2 separate regions of the Homo sapiens genome follow, and region 1 is linked to region 2. The links are contacts of gene promoters, found by promoter capture Hi-C in blood cells and fetal thymus (Javierre and others, 2016). All regions are on one chromosome and are shown on one strand. The core of a region is centred on a gene start or on the middle of the fragment in contact, and the rest is flanking DNA. Distances in the headings are between cores, read along the strand shown.

Region 1 (2,700 bases), core at 76-2,575, 6.0 Mb after region 2:
CTTATTGAGCTTTGAGTAGATGCTGTTTGAGTAGACTTTATGTTTGAAAATTCTTGTTCAAAAATATTTTTTTGAAAAGAAACCGCATTAACAGAAGAACATCTTTAACCTCCCCATCAGAAAGAAACATGGGAACTTGGCAGCAGCATAATTAAAACACATAGTTATCTAAAGCTCTTTATGAGTTTGTTTCATCTTTATATGTTCTTGGTAGCTTTTTGACAAAAACAAGACAAAGGTTATATATTGTTTCACTTTGAAGCAGGATAACCAAACTTAGGCTGAATTCTGGCTATGTGCTAAATTTCTGATTTATAGACATGGGAAATGTTTTTGTATGAATCTACTATTGTATTCACTTTTAGAACATGCCTTTTATGGAAAAGAAAGGAGAAATCAATTTGTACAGCAAAAAGACTAGTAATAGCTAACATTTATTGAATACTAACTGTATGCCAGCCACTGTTCTAAGTACTTTTTACTTGTATTGATTTATTTAATTTTTCCAGTTACCTTGTGGGATACAAGTCCTTTTATCCTATTTTATAAAAGAGGAAACCGAGGTACAGAGAGGTTAAGTAGTTTACCCTAGGTTATGTGGGTAATAGCACAGCTGTGATTCAAGTACAGGCAGTTTGACTATATAGTCTACTGTAATGTCATTTAAAGAAAACAGTTATGTAATTATTTAAATTTTGATTTTAGTCATTGTAAATGTGGCATTCTTCAGTTGGTTAGGAATTTGATCTCTGTTATTCCTTAGATCTTCACCAAAGTGATGAAATGTGTGTGCTCATTTCTCATCCTTCTCTCCTTCCACTCTCTGTGTAGAATTCTCTGTCATAGTTCTGAGCGCTTGGAGGAGAAAAGAATGGCATGTGCAAAGCAGTGTGACATGGATTTTAGTTGCTTGGTTAATTGCTTTACATTCCATTGGGGGCTTAAAGCTTGGCAGTGGAGATATACATTTCCATGTATAGAATTCTCTTTATTTTTAGGAATCTAAAATTTCCTGTAATGAACTGTATTAATTTACTTCTACCCTGAACATTCTCTTTTTCCCTAGCATGTTTCGCCAAGGGATGCATGACTTGAAAGTCTGGCCTAATGTAGAAGCAGATGGATCAGAACCCACAAAAACTCCTGGCAGAACAAGTAGCACTCTCTCAGAAGATCAGATGAGCCGTCTTGCCAAGGTAAAAAAAGTCATTTGGAACAGGTGCAAAGCTCTGACTGATGTCTATTGTAGTATATATACCTTGACATTATGAACTCTGTCAGATTTTTAAAAAATCTAAATCTTAACTTTTAAATAATTGTTTTATTGAGATATAATTCACATACCATAAAGTTCACCCTTGGAAAGCATACAGTCTGATGGTTTAGTAAATTTACAGACTTGTATAATCATCACCACTATATAATTTTAGAATTTTTTCATCACCCCTAAAAGAAACCGCACCATTAACAGTCACTCCCATTTTCTGCTCCCTGCAGTTAGTTCCAGGCAAGTACTAATCTACTTACTATCTGTATGGATTTGCCTGTTCTGGAAATTTCATATAAATGGAATCATTCAGTATGTGACCTTATGTCTGGAAATCTGTCAGGTTTGAAAATGTGGAGCGTTGGTGATATTTTCAAGATGACCACCCACTTTTTCTGGTGACATAGCCTTAAAGTTGTTAGTGTAACATTCTAGAGAAGCTTATGCCACTTGGAAGTGAAGATGACTCAGACAATTAACTAGTATAAAGTTTCTTTGTAAGCAAATGAAGTTATTACCTTTTTCTTTCAAAATTGTTTTAATCAAGTGTTTTCACTTAGAAATATAAAAACTAAATTCTATTCCGTGCATTAATTGCAACGCTGTCATTTATTTTGTGAACTTCCTTTCACAAAGCACTGTGTTAGATACTGTTTAAGGATCCCTTTACAGTTATCTGATTAGGACACTTTCTTGTAGTTATAATACATACTTTTTTTTTGCAATCTTATTAGTAGGAGTGCCTCTTTAATGTCTGGAGGAAGTTTTGTTGCTAAGCTTTTAACAGCTTGTTGCCTTTACCCACATATAGAAGAAATCTTCAAGAATAAGTACTTGGGTTGGCTAGGCTTCATGCTTCAACACAGAATTTTTGTCAAGTTCATTTTGTCTTTTGTATTGCTCTTTTAAGGAAAAATGGTGTTGTAGCAACCTGATAACTATATTGACCAATATACTATTGTCTGCTTCTCCCATCCATAATTAAATAAAATTTAATATTCATTTCTTCTACTCATTCTGAGATTTTGTTTGCATTCTGACGTGGGATATAGGAAAGGTCTCAAGCTTTTCATATGTCTACCTTTAAGACTTTATCTTAGTGATGATCTTTCATTTGAGCTACTCTCTGTCCCTTTTACAAACCTTGAATAGTTAATATAAATTTTATTAGAATCAATTCATTTATAGCCTGTGGGTCACTATAATATGAAAAAGGTTAAATTAAAAAAGAATAAAGAATAATATTTTTAAAAAAGCTCTTAAATTGTCTTTTAAGAGTAGCCATTATGATTCATATTGTAGGTGAAATTCTAAGTCTGAGGGGGAATGGCCAGAGTCAAGAAATATAAAGCTTTATAGTTGCACAGTGTAACTACATTGTTTCTCTGTTAAACACATTATTTAGGCTTCTGTTCACCTAAAAAGTTAGGTTT
Region 2 (2,700 bases), core at 18-2,517:
AATAAAAAATGAGCAAAGAACTTAAACAGCCAAAGATACATAAATTGCCAACAAGCACATGAAAAGCTGCTCAAAAGCATCAGTAGTCAGGGAAATGTTAATCAAAACCACAATGAGATGCTACATCATACTCACTAGGAAGGCTAGATTTAAAAAAAAAAGAAAAAGAAAAGCAAATGTTGGTGAGGATACGGAGAAACTGGAACCCTCATTAAGCACAGAATTACTACATAACCCAGCAGATCTACTCTTAGGTATTATACCCCGAAGAACAGAAAAAAGGCACTCAAACAAATGCATGTACACACATGTTCACAGCGGCATTCATTCATAACAGCCAAAAAGTAGAAACAATTCAAACGTTCAACTGATGAATGGATAAACCATTGTGATACCGCCATACAATGGAATATTATTCAGCCATAACAACGAATGAAGTACTGATACGTGCTGCAAGGTGGATGAACCTGATACATTATGCTAGGTGAAGGAAGCCAGACACAAAAGGTCGTGTGTATGATTCCATTTACATGAAATGCCCAGAATAGGTAAATCCATAGAGACAGAAAGCGGACTGGTGGTTGCCAAGGCCTGGGAGGGAGAGGAGGATTGGCCGTAAGTGCTTCATGGAGTTGGCTGTCCTTCGGCGAAATATTTTGGAAATAGCAGAATGGTGCTTGCACAACATTGTAAATTTACTAAACGCCACTGAATTGTTCACCTTAAAATGGTCAATATTACGTTATGTGAATTTCACTTTAATTACAAAAAGAGAAACGCTAGCGTTTACGCAGGCGGAGGGCAGGCTGGACTGGGGACGCTCCTCCCGGCCGCCTCGTTGCTGGCAGCGCTTCCGCCCGCCGGCGCACCAGTCAGTACCGCGCCCGGCGAATGTGGAGGGCGAAGCTGCGGCAGGGCAATCACAAAAGGGCTGTCAGAGAGGAGGCGAGGCGGGAGGAAGATGGAGAGGCGGGTGGGAGCCTCACCTTTGGACTCTATCGCCACAGCCCGGTCTAGCCGCTACGCCCGAGCTCAAGTCTGACTCGAAACTCCGCTGGGTGCCTGAGAGGACCCGGCAGGCCAAGGGGTGGAACTGAGGGGGCGGGGACGCGGCGGGCGGGTGGGGCCGCCTCCCGGCTGGGCACGCCTCCAAGCCAGACTGGACGCGAAGGAAACCGGAACCTGTCTGCCTACGGTGCCTGTTTCCGGAAGCAGCTTGAGTCCGGACACCAACGACGGGGACGCTGGGAAGCCGACTTCCGGCGCCCTATTTTCTCACCTGGTTCCCGCGGCGAGCCAGCGGCAGCGGCGGCGGCGATGAGACAGAAGCACTACCTTGAGGCTGCAGCGCGGGGACTGCACGACAGCTGCCCGGGCCAAGCCCGCTACCTCCTGTAAGAGGACTGGAGGGGAAGCGGGAGGCGAGCGGGTAGGTGTTCCTTTGCTCCTCACAAGTCTCTTTCTCTTTTACAGCTGGGCCTACACTTCGTCGCACGGTAAGAAGAACGCCTGTCTCTTGTGCTTTGGGCTCTTGTCGCCCCGCTTTCCTCTGTTCCGCACAACGCTCAAATAAGGCCGATGGACTCACTTCCCTCCATAAAAACAACAACAACAAAGCCCGCATGTGTCTCGGTTTCGTGAAAAATCCAAATTCTTTAATGTGCCTTGTCTTGCTTTGTTAGCGGCATTTGACACATTGATCAGTCTTGAAATAGTTTCCTCCCTTGGCTTCTAGGTCATTACGTAGTTCACCTCTTCATTTATTACTTCTCGATTTGCTTTGCTGGTTCCTCCTAATCTCCCCAAGCTTTAAGTATTGTCGTGGCCCAGTACTCAGCCCTTGGACCTCTTTTCTAGGCACACTCGCTTCCTTGGTGACAGTTTTTCATCCAATCTCATGGCTTTTAAATACCATATACTGAGGACTTACAAATGTATATACTCAGCGCAGACCTCTCCTCTGAATTCTAGACTCATATATCCGAATGTCTTCTTGACAAATTCTTTTCAATGTCTAGTAATTCAAACTTAGCTAATATGTCCAAAACCTGAGCTTTAACCCCCAACAAGATCCTCCAGTTTTTCTCATTTCAGTAAATAATTCCATTCTTCCCTTACAGTTATTGAGCCCAAAAACCTTGGAGCTATTCTTGACTCCCTAACTCTCTCTCCTCCCCCAGGCCAGTATGCGAGCAAATCCTGTTGGCTTTAAAATGTAGCCAAAATCAGCCAGGAGCGGTGGCTCACCCCTGTAATCCCAGCACTTTGAGATGCAGAGGCGGGCGGATCATTTGAGGCCAGGAGTTCGAGACCAACCTGGCCAACATGGCGAAACGCTGTCTCTACTAAAAATACAAAAAAATTACCTGGCATGGTGGTGCACGCCTGTAATCCCAGCTACTCGAGAGGGTGAGGCATGAGAATCTCTTGAACCCGGGAGGTGGAGGTTGCAGTGAGCGGAGATGGCGCCATTGCACTCCACTCCTCACCACATCCATTGCTACTACCCTGCTCCAGGCCATCACCAGCTCTCTCCTGGATTAATAAAAGTGAAAGTCCTTTAAAAGGATTGTAAGGCCCTGTGTCATAGACCTGCATACCTCTCTGACGTACTCTTTCCTTCACGCAACTCCAGTCACACTAGGTCTCCTTGCTTTTCTGTTTCAGGGCCTTTGCAGGTACTCTTCACTCTGCCTGGGA

Evidence for each region. Contacts are between HindIII fragments. The CHiCAGO score rates a contact against its expected background, and 5 or more counts as called.
Region 1: a fragment that was not itself captured here is called in contact with the fragment with the promoter of RMP24 in region 2 in 1 of 17 cell types (non-activated CD4 T cells); the score reaches 6.3 in non-activated CD4 T cells.

Annotation. Positions count from the first base shown.
Region 1 is chr18:41,969,261-41,971,960 of GRCh38, forward strand. PIK3C3 (phosphatidylinositol 3-kinase catalytic subunit type 3) reads left to right here. Exons shown (of 25, transcript NM_002647.4): 4 at 1,067-1,196. Among named protein-coding and RNA genes, the nearest start is that of PIK3C3, 15 kb to the left of the region's middle. The HindIII fragment of the contact is 760 bases long and covers 946-1,705 here.
Region 2 is chr18:35,971,412-35,974,111 of GRCh38, forward strand. It overlaps RMP24 (ribonuclease MRP subunit p24), which reads left to right and starts at 1,268. Exons shown (of 5, transcript NM_031446.5): 1 at 1,268-1,394; 2 at 1,474-1,496. The coding sequence starts at 1,318. It overlaps LOC105372066 (a long non-coding RNA gene), which reads right to left and starts at 1,040. Exons shown (of 4, transcript NR_188032.1): 1 at 987-1,040. RefSeq lists silencers at 755-1,049, 989-1,138 and an enhancer at 1,058-1,950. The HindIII fragment of the contact is 7,007 bases long and covers 1-1,805 here.